Linked DNA regions of Homo sapiens: region 1 is linked to region 2. The links are contacts of gene promoters, found by promoter capture Hi-C in human tissues and cell types (Jung and others, 2019). All regions are on one chromosome and are shown on one strand. The core of a region is centred on a gene start or on the middle of the fragment in contact, and the rest is flanking DNA. Distances in the headings are between cores, read along the strand shown. Region 1 overlaps HTR2A (5-hydroxytryptamine receptor 2A). Region 2 holds the start of RB1 (RB transcriptional corepressor 1).

Region 1 (5,566 bases), core at 128-2,627, 1.5 Mb before region 2:
CACTCTTAGACAAACCTAATATTTTCACAATACCATTCTCACTCCTAAATAGAAGTTTAATATTTCCTTAATATTAAATGTAGAGTTAGTGTTCAAATTTCCAATTGTCCCATAAAGGTTGTTCTATGTTTTTAGTAGTAGAGCATTCATAAGGATGGATTGCAAAAAACAAGACAGCCATAGACTTTTTATTGACAAATATAAAAAGTAGGTATAGGATGAGATAATACAGGGGAACATGGGCCTATATGGTTCATTGCTCCATCACCCAGATTTGGGGGATCTGTAAGGCTCCCTCAGGTACAGGGATTAGGCAGAGGAGGAAGCAGAAGTGAATAAAGGCAACCCCTGGCCTCTAATCATGCTATGTGCCCCACTTGATGATAGGACCTTTTTAAAGGAAGATTCAACTGGCCATGTTGTGCAGTTTCACCACCCAGCCCCCACCATGGACAACCTCTCTGCTCCTGGGGAAATAGGTGTATCTTTCTCTACTGGCCTGGGATGGTTGGTCCAAGGCAATCATGAGATGGCTTATTCTCTCTGCCATAAAGGTAGAATCAGGATGATAAAAAAGAGAGGAAACATGAATCAAGTACTCTGTATAACTTAGTTTAAGATTGTTTCTTTCATGAAATGGTAGATATTGCAGGGACAGCCTGGGAGAAAAAGTCAGAAAAATAGTTCCCTTCTAACTCCTGCCCATATTATCAGCACACTCAGAATTGTAGAACAAAGAGTGTTGTGGTTACTGCTTCTGACCGTCTTTAGAGTCTAATACATGGTCTCACACCAGCCAAGAACACCGGTTTATTCCAGAATTGGGGGCCACTGCCTCACTCTTGCCATCCATCTGGAAAAAGGTTTTTGGAGAATCTCTAATCTAACTTCTGCATACTCAGAACAGAGTTCCGCTTCATCCAAGCACAGGCATGACTGTCCTAACCTCATGTCACCTCACATTGGCCATCGTGGCCAGGAAAGAACGCTGAGTTGATGTAATATTCAACACAAATCTTTCTTAGTGACATTTGCCATTATCTTCAAAGACTTAATTAACAATATTTGTCACTTGCCTATGCAAGCCCATCCAGGATTCTTGGAAGGTGGAGATAAATGACATCAGAGCTGTTCATAAGGACACTTATTGTGGCTAATGACTCTTCATTTCCTCCATCCCTCTCTGTTCCTGGCCCATTGTTTGCAACATTCAAGAAGAGATTGATGAGCTGTGCCTCCAAGGAGAACATCCTCTGAGACCCTGGATATTGACCAGTTTTGCTTATCCTTCGGAAAACTCTTGATTGTAAAAGTAAGGGCATGATTTCTAAGAAGAGTGTTTTTCTCCCAGTGTTTGAATCTAGATCTGTGAAAGATATTTCCTGTACTCATGTACAAGGTCTTCTTAGACAGCACAGTTGCTCATTGATTAGAAAGGATGCTTTGTTCAACCATTTGAGACATCCCTGGATTTGAGTCTTGGCTGTGGCTCTGGGCTCCTGAATTGGTTACTTCATTCCTATAGTCCCCACTTCTTCATCTATCGTGGGAGGCTGGCACCAACATACCTTCATGCATTTGGTGAGGATAAAATGGATCAAATTTGCAGAGCACCTAGCACAGCACCCAGTCCATAGTGATGTTCTACCAGTGGTCAATAAACATGAGAGTAGCTTTCTCTGCAGAACTATTTATATTAAATATATCAACATTATTTTATTCTAATCCATTTTGCTTAGTTTGTATACACTAGATTTTATATAGCAGATCTTTTTAAACCAAAAGAGACTAAAAAGACTTTTGGCTATTGGCCGTAGAGTTAACACTGATGTAATTTTAGCTTCTGCCAGGGTGACGCCGGGTCTTAATCAATTTTAATTTTGTGCAGCTAGAACTGTTGATTACTTTCCTAATGTGATGAATTACAGCATTACTATTAGTCATGATACACAGAAACAAGATATCAACCGTCCAAAAAAGGTGTGTGATTTTGTTATTAAACTCTTGAGTGTTCTTTTTCTAATTAATACAAAGGAAGTAACTACCTTGAGAGCCTTTTGCCCTATTTGCTTATAACCTAGTAATGTACATAAGTGGCAATTCTCAATTAACCAGAATGTGGGCTTACCTAAAATGCCAAATTCTTTAATTATTTGGAATAGTGTCTTTGGTTGGACACACACATACACACACACACACACACACACACACACACACCCTTACAGAATAGCCCAGTTTCTGAGAGGGGTGATGGAGTCATCTGCACTGAAATAGAGAATCCCTCTCTTAAATGCCCGGGATAAAAAGCCACTCTACAAGAGGATGTGGTAAGAGGTTACACGCAGAGCTGTTCTGTCTGGAAGGGGGATATTAATTTGGAAGTGGAGAATCAAGCTGATCAGTTATTTAAATGGCCTATTCATCTTTACATATAACAAAAACATCCTGAATACTATCGTATACCATTCTTTTTCCATGCCTCACTCATAGTATCTGGTCAGCAAGGGTTGTAGAAAGAATAACCAGAAAGTTAAAGTAATACTCTATAAAGAGGAGAGGAAATTTTATGTCAAAAAACTTAGAACACATAGATAGGCTTTGTGGGTACAATCAGCAGCTCAAAAGCATGTGCCTCTACCAAGAGAGATGAAGACATGGGCTGATATCCAATATCGTGGTCACAGCCATCTCTAGGGCATTAATTATCTGGCTGCTTTGTTTGACAATAGCTGCTTTTGGAGACCTGACATCTCCTCTCACTTGAAATTTCTGCATATAAAGCATTTTCCTTTATGAACAAAACAGACAGTAACCTGAATTACATGACTCTGCATTTTGTTTAATATATTTTTTCTGAAGAGTGGAAAACAGCAGTCAAAATTCACTATCAGTATTAGATCCTCTATGTAGCATTTTATTCATTTCCATTGAAACTCAGACAATAAAATGAATGGGAAACCTTGACACCTAAGAACACAAAAGCTTTGGTTGGTGTCTTTCTTTCAGCATGGCTCTGCTTACTTCCTGCACATAAACTTTGCACCTCTAGTTAACATCTTACCACAGGCTGCATCAATAATTCACTTTGAACCGCTGGCTGTGAAGGACTGGCTTTATTCTTAATCTTGGACTTTTTCTGAGACAGTGTACATTTCTTGGGAAATAAGAAGATTGCCTTCCTAGATAACCATTCTCTTGTAGGGAACAGGACAGTGGCAGTCCCTAGGGCCCTCAGCTGGAAAGGAGGTGGAGGGCAGAGAAGTTATTTCGGGGCTCTTGTGAAAAAGATTGAAATTTGGGTTCATAGGTTTCTGTTTCCCCAAACTGCTACCTTTTCTTTGAATTTTAATGCATGCTGTATTTTTCAAGTTATAAGAACAAATTTACTAGTAGTTTGACAGAAGACACCACTGGTAAACACTGCAGGATAATCCTCATATTACAGGGAAAGAAGAATTGAATATATAGGGCAACTGCCAATGGGACTCACTATCCTGATACAGAGTGGCTAAATTCCTTCTAATCTATGTATGGTGTGTTGACAAGGCAGATGTACATAAAAATGAGAGCTACACAAACATGTCAGTTACCCAAAAGCTGTATGTTTCTTTTTCTCAGATTAATTCCAAATAGCTCTGATAATAAATTGCAACTTTTCAAGGTATTATCACACATATTTGTTTATTCACTCTAAATTGATTTTTACAAAATTGTTAAAACATTACCCACACCTTCTTATGGGGCAGATGAAAATCTCACTTTACAGATATGAAAACTTGGGCCTACCAAGCTTAAGTAATTTAGTTAGAATCACACAGAAAGTTGGGGGCAAAATCAAGACCTCTACTCAGGGTTCTTAATTCTTATGGTGGATTTTTAAAAACTGCTTATTTGTTCCTTTGAAGGTAGTTACAAAAGTCTATGACTACCTCTGAGGTTTTTAACATTGGCTTCAGGAAGTCTATGATAATCCTAAAATCTGAAAAATTTGTATATATGTATATTTCCTTGGAGATAGATCTTTCCTTAGATGGGCAGAAAAATTCTAGCCCCTAATATGACTAATAAGCACTAAATTACACCAATTGATATGGTTTCATTCTGTGTCTCCACCCAAATCTCATCTTGAATTGTAATCCTCATAATCCCCACATGTCGGGACAGGGACCTGGTGGGAGGTGATTGGATCATGGGGAGGTTTCTCCCATGCTGTTCTCGTGATAGTGAGAGTTCTCACGAGATCTGATGGTTTTATGTGTTTGACAGTTCCTCCTTCCCACGCTCTCTCTCACCTGCCACCATGTAAGATGCACCTGCTTCCCTTTCTGGCATGATCGTAAGTTTCCTGAGGCCTCCCCAGCCATGTGGAACTGTGAGTCAATTAAACCTCTTTCCTTTATAAATTACCCAGTCTTGGGCATTTCTTTATAGCAGTGTGAGAACAGACTAATACGCCGATGTTGCATGTACAGCACAAACTCTCTCTCTCTCTCCACCACCCCCACCAGTGATTTTCTGTACCTTGATTTTGTTTTTGCATTCTTTCATCTCAAAGCCACAAGTTCCTCTAGCCAGACATTAAATTCATTGAGGCCAGAAAAATAGTTCAAAAATAAAATCCTTATAATCAACATTTAGTTTCTTTCAAATACTAGGGAAGTTATTCTCAACTGTAGCTGCACATTAGAATCACTGAGGGAGTTTTAAAAGTTACATTGCCTGAGCCTCATTCTCGGGGGTTCTGATGTTAGTACTTTAAAAAATATAAATGCCCAGGCACTACATAAACATGAAAACAACAACCACTCCAGGGATCTCTGTAAGCAGTTGTGCACTGCAGAAGCTGGTGGCCTAATTGCCCCCATCATAGATTCCTTATAAAGTGGTCTCTGTCTCCTCTGACCCTCCTTCCTTTTCTTTTCCATTTCATAGCCTAGAGGTTGTGCTTCAATATAAAGATCTTGCACTGAAAGGCGAAGAGATTGAATTCTGGCTTGTAGATGGGGCTTGTCAGCCGTCACTGCAACACTTAAGAACCCATCCACATCTCTCTTGTCTCAGAGAAGATTGACTTTCATCTACCATTTCAGCCCCCAGACAATATATTACAAAACCCAAAGAGAATCTGAACCATATAATATAATTTGAATAAATAACCAGAGCCTTGTTTTGTTGTTGGAATCACAAGTAATAAGGCAACTTCTGCTGATCACTATGTTAGTTAGCTTAATTTCATCATTCTACATTGTAGGCATCGACCAAAATATCACATTTGTACGTCATCAATGATACAATTATGATTCACAAATGAAAAATAATATTAATAATAAAAATAAAACTCTTCAATGCCACAGAAAGTTGGGGGCAAAATCAAGACCTGCCTCCTTCTTTTTTAATGAGTGGATATTACACTATCTACCCCTAGCAGGTGCTCTTTTCTAGGCTGCATATTTAGCAACGTGCTCATGAGTAAAGATTTATTTAGAAAAAAAACTCATCTCTGTCCTACATTATTGGGCCCCATCTTGAAAGTATTGTATCCTTTCTCCCATTTCTATCAAGGGGG
Region 2 (5,725 bases), core at 3,014-5,513:
CAAGAACCAGGTTGAAGAATACCTGAACTGTTTAACAAGCAATGTCCAATGATCATGCACTCGGATATTCCTGAAATGTCAAATTGATATAAACACTGCTAAGCACTTATCCTTTTAATTTCTGTACTTATTTCCTTGTGGACTAAACACAAACAGTTCGCAGACTGTCACTGGTCCAAGAACTACACTTTGAGTAGCATTACTCTAGGGAGCACTTGCATTGAAGGGACCGGCAGAAAGAGAACTAATGAAGGAATTTGTGAAGTAACAAGGGAGGAGAACAAGGAGACCATAGATTTGTGGAAGACTAGGGAATTTTTAAGAGGAAGTGGTTAACTATATTGACTGCAAGAAAGGTCAAGTAGGTTGAGGACCAAAAGAAGCCATGGGATTGACAACTATCATCAGTGACATTTGAAAGAGTGATTTCAGAAGGGGGCTCTTGGTGGTAGTGAAAGAAAGCCAGGGGCCAGCAGGCTGAGAAATTGGGGAAGCAGAGAGAACCAATGGGGACTACCCTTCTAAGAAGCTAGATGGTTAAGAAATGGAAATAGTGTGGTAGCTTGGGGGTATAAAAACTTTGAAGGAAGGCTTTTTAGAACGATGAAGACTTTTTAGACCCTTCCCCAAATTTTAATATCACTGAAGGAGTCTCAAACTGAAGAGAGTTCCCTCTCTAGATAGAAAATCTAAGAAATACATATATTTTTTGTAGGAGTCTTACAGCAATCTTCTTAAAATTACCAAGCAGGTTGGAAGAGATCCATGAATTTCAAGAAGTTCAGGGGGAATTTTTTTAAGACTCTGCTGAAATATATATATATATATATATATATATATATATATATATTTTTTGAGATGGGGTCTTGCTCTTGTCGCCTAGGCTGGAGTGCAGTGGCATGATCTCAGCTCACTGCAACCTCTGCCTCCTGGGTTCAAGTGATTCTCCTGCCTCAGCCTCCAGAGTAGCTGGGATTACAGGCACCTGCCACCACACTCAGCTAATTTCGTATTTTTGGTAGAGATGTGGTTTCACCATGTTTGCCAGCCTGGTCTCAAACTCCTGACCTCAGGTGATCCACCCGCCTTGGCCTCCCAAACTGCTGGGATTACAGGCGTGAGCCACCGTACCTGGTCTAGACTCTGCCGAAATTCTAATACTTCTTTGGTAATGCAACAGAAAACTAAAGATTTTGATGGTGAACTCAATTGCTTCTGAGTTGTGTGGATGAAAATATATTTTATTATTTTTTCCTTCAACTTTTAAGCTCCCAGGTATATGTGTAGGATGTGCAGGTTTGTTACACAGGTAAATGTGTGCTATGGTGGTGTGCTGCACAGATCAACCCATCACCATGGTATTAAGCCCAGCATCCATTAGCTCTCCTGATGCTCTCCCTCTCCCCACCCTTCCCCGCTACAGGCCCCAGTGTGTGTTGTTCCCCTTCCTGGGTCTATTTTATGGTATGTATGTGTGTATGTGTGTGTGTGTGTGTGTGTGTGTGTGTGTGTGTGTATCTATTTATGTGTATATATTATGATATATACACCACACTTTTTTCAAACTATTATTTTAGGTTTAGGGATACATGTGCAAGTTTGTTATATAGGTAAACTGTGTGTCTCTGGGGTTTGGTGTGTACAGATTTTTTCACCACCCAGGTAACAAGTGTAGTACCTGATAGGTAGTTTTTTGATCTTCTGTCCTCTCACCCTACACCCTCAAGTAATCCCCCAGTGTGTGTTGTTCCCCTCTTCATGTCCATGTGTTCTCATTGTTTAGCTCCCACTTATAAGTGAGAACATGCAGTGTTTGGTTTTCTGTTCCTGCGTTAGTTTGCTGAGGATAAAGGCTTCTGGCTCCATCCATGTTCCTGCAAAGGACATGATCTCATTCCTTTTTATGGCTGCAGGAAAATATATTTTACATACTAGTGAACATAGTTAAATTAATCCATGGTCAAGACATATATTCTTTTGTAAATTGAGAAATCTCTTTATCATAATTGTAATATGGTAATAAATAAATCTAGATTACATAAATGTAATCTAGATGTTGATAAACTGGTTTTAAATAAAGCAAGTGATATCTACGTATGAAGAGAGTTTACTTCAGTTCCTAGAACTTTCCTTCACTTTCCTGCCATCCCTACTTTTAGTAAGCAAGCATTTACTGTGTGTGTAACACTGTGCTAGGTACTAAGGCAATGATGATACCCAAGATTTGGTCTCTATCCTGAAGATAAGCACAGGAGAAACATTATCAGTCATGATGCTTTCTGTTGCAAACAAGTGAAAACCTCAGCTCAGCTTAGGTCAGCTCCAGGGCTGGCCAAATCAGAGGCTCATTTATAACACTGAGGATCCAGATTCTTTTGAAATTCCTCCTGCACCAATATCAGCATTTCTACCTTCTCTGTAGGTTGGCTTGCCTCACGTTACAATGGCTGCAGCAATCAGAAGTGTCACATCCTCAGTAATACTTAATATTATTACTATTATTTAATAATATTTAGAACTGTGCCATCCCTGTTTCAATTTATCAGGCTCCCAGCAGACTACTCCTTATCTTTCAAATGTCAAAACTGCATCCTGAGCTCTTGCCTAAACTAATCTGGGGTGAGGTGAATGGAAGTAGCACTTTAATTGTATTCATTCTTTGTAGCTGGACCTGGGCCTGGGCCCTATCTCCTGACATTTGCCCACAAGAAAGATTTCTGAAGTTAGGTAGGACTGGCTGTTGAGTAGGCCAGTGCTTGCCAAACCTTTACACATCCTCACATATGTCATAATATGCAGATAAAAAGATAATCCCTTATACAACTTGCTGGGATAAACTCAGGAGGCTTACAGCCATGACCTGCTTGAAGGTTCTTCCTGCCTTAGACCTTGCTCAGCTGCTCCAGGATGAGGGGATTTACATCACAGCACAACTGTATTTTATTCACAGCATAAACCATCTCTTTCCTTCTCAGTTGACGAGTTCAGATGGGCAATAACAGTGTCTGCCAAAGAGAAAAAAAAATGTATTCAAACTAGATAATCTATTGGTACAAATACCGAGACACAGAAGTGATAACAGCTTTAAGCCAATGTTTGATGGTGGTAGTCCCAGCAAGCTCTTTTCTGATGTCTTTGTGCCTTTGCACATGCTCCTTCTCTGTCACTGTTTTCTTCATCAAACATAATATAATGGACAAGTGGAATCAAATAGAATTGAGTTCAAATTCTCTGCTACCCATCGGCCCTGGTATTGGACAAATTAACTCCTCTGAGCCTGTTTCCTCATCTGCAACGTAGACTAGCTAATACTACCCATTGGAAAGCGTTGTTTCTTAGCTAATGCATGCAAGGCTTAAAACCTAGATGACGGGTTGATAGGTGCAGCAAACCTCCATGGCATACGTATGCCTATGTAACAAACCTACACGTTCTGCACTTGTATCCCGGAACTTAAAGTAAAAAAAAAAAAAAAAAAAGAAAAGAAAGAAAGAAAAAGAAAAAAAAGGCTGTTTCTGGGGATTAAATAAGACAATTATGTAAGGTGGCCAGCACAGTTCCTGGTACATAGTAAATGTCAGGCCTGCCTGACAGACTTCTATTCAGCAGCTACTGCTCCCCTGAAAATCTTCCTCAGACGTTTCCACGGTGCTTCCCGTTCTTACACCACTACAATCCTTTATTACACTACTATCCGTTCATTCCCCACAGCTCCCTCCCTTCCTTTCCCTAACCAGTGATCCCAAAAGGCCAGCAAGTGTCTAACATTTTCTATCTTCTAAGTGACTGGTAAAGTTCCGCACCTATCAGCGCTCCAAGTTTGTTTTTGTTTTGGCCGACTTTGCAAAACGGATTGGGCGGGATGAGAGGTGGGGGGCGCCGCCCAAGGAGGGAGAGTGGCGCTCCCGCCGAGGGTGCACTAGCCAGATATTCCCTGCGGGGCCCGAGAGTCTTCCCTATCAGACCCCGGGATAGGGATGAGGCCCACAGTCACCCACCAGACTCTTTGTATAGCCCCGTTAAGTGCACCCCGGCCTGGAGGGGGTGGTTCTGGGTAGAAGCACGTCCGGGCCGCGCCGGATGCCTCCTGGAAGGCGCCTGGACCCACGCCAGGTTTCCCAGTTTAATTCCTCATGACTTAGCGTCCCAGCCCGCGCACCGACCAGCGCCCCAGTTCCCCACAGACGCCGGCGGGCCCGGGAGCCTCGCGGACGTGACGCCGCGGGCGGAAGTGACGTTTTCCCGCGGTTGGACGCGGCGCTCAGTTGCCGGGCGGGGGAGGGCGCGTCCGGTTTTTCTCAGGGGACGTTGAAATTATTTTTGTAACGGGAGTCGGGAGAGGACGGGGCGTGCCCCGACGTGCGCGCGCGTCGTCCTCCCCGGCGCTCCTCCACAGCTCGCTGGCTCCCGCCGCGGAAAGGCGTCATGCCGCCCAAAACCCCCCGAAAAACGGCCGCCACCGCCGCCGCTGCCGCCGCGGAACCCCCGGCACCGCCGCCGCCGCCCCCTCCTGAGGAGGACCCAGAGCAGGACAGCGGCCCGGAGGACCTGCCTCTCGTCAGGTGAGCGAGCAGAGCCGCCGTCGCCTCACGCGGGAAGGGCGCCCCGGGTGTGCGTAGGGCGGGCGCCAAGGCGGCTCGGCGGGGATCCGTCCTCGCCAGGGGCCGGGTCCCGGCGGGAGGAGGCGCCCTCCCTGCCCCCCGCCACGGCGGAGCGTCTGCAGAATGGTGACAGGATTCTGGGTTCTTGGGCGAGGGGTCTCGGCTTCAACTTGACAGGTGTCGGGCGGGTGGGGCTAGGGTCCTGAGCGAAGTGACAGGTGCAGTTCCCTCTTGTGAGGCTCGGAGGCAGAGGGTCGTTGCGAGCGTCCATCAGACGCAAAAAATGAAAAATAAAAATACAAAAATGGTGTCTGTGGGAGAGTTTTTCACCGGAGAATTGGAGTACTCCGGTGGTCGTCTGACTTTCTGTTTTGGTTCACGCGATGCAACAGTTGGGAAGTATTTTCTTCCGGGCGTGCACTGCATCTGAAGTCCATTTGTGGGAGAGGCCGACCAGAAAGCCTTGGACAAGAAGCGCAGGGTCCTGAGTGTCCATTGCCCACAGGATACTCGGCTCAGGAGCTTTGCGGCGTTTCCTTAGAACAATAATGCATCGAGGCCTTGGGGACTCAAAGCCATCTGTAGTGATTGATGGAGCGTAACTCTTTAGAGGAACTGAAACATGGGCAAAACTTTCATGAGACATTTACCAGAAGTGCTTGAAAGTTTCTAAACTTTTTTTTTTCCTGTTTGATGAACTCTTCTTGCGTGTTAGTCGGCTTCGGCTTGTCTCATTATTTCTTCCATTTTGCCTTTTGACTTTGAACCAGCAAGGATCTTGGTGTCCCCTCTTTTTGCCTTTGTTTTTGGCACAAAATTAGTGGTTCTGTGCGCAAATGGAAATTTTCGTTTTCCCTTATTAAGTGGAATCTAAATTTAAGCAAGTCCATACGAATGCACTAGATCTTGAAGGGAAGTATTTATTGTATTACAACATCTTACTTTTCTTGATTTTTCTACTTTATGGTTAAATAGCTATGATTGAAAGAGTGTAATTGTCATTATTGTCAGCACTGGTTCTACTTTGAGACAAGTTCATTGCAGAGGGAATGGGACTTGTTTCTGTTTTTCACTATTTTCTCTCCCATTCTTGTCTATCACCAAATCCTTTCACCCTCACCCAT

What was found. The method cuts DNA at HindIII sites, captures the fragments that hold promoters and counts their contacts. A contact is called where the count stands out against the background at its distance.
Region 1: a fragment that was not itself captured here is called in contact with the fragment with the promoter of RB1 in region 2 in 1 of the 25 tissues and cell types used here (lymphoblastoid cells).

The regions. Positions count from the first base shown.
Region 1 is chr13:46,836,793-46,842,358 of GRCh38, forward strand. The region is part of intron 3 of HTR2A (5-hydroxytryptamine receptor 2A); the gene reads right to left. Among named protein-coding and RNA genes, the nearest start is that of HTR2A-AS1, 13 kb to the right of the region's middle. The HindIII fragment of the contact is 4,018 bases long and covers 1-3,386 here.
Region 2 is chr13:48,299,488-48,305,212 of GRCh38, forward strand. RB1 (RB transcriptional corepressor 1) reads left to right here and starts at 4,264. Exons shown (of 27, transcript NM_000321.3): 1 at 4,264-4,562. The coding sequence starts at 4,426. RB1-DT (RB1 divergent transcript) reads right to left here and starts at 4,215. Exons shown (of 3, transcript NR_046414.2): 1 at 3,804-4,215; 2 at 2,852-3,005. RefSeq lists enhancers at 3,392-4,117, 4,118-4,841, 4,916-4,965, 5,206-5,275 and a silencer at 4,416-4,705. The HindIII fragment of the contact is 21,400 bases long and covers 1-5,725 here.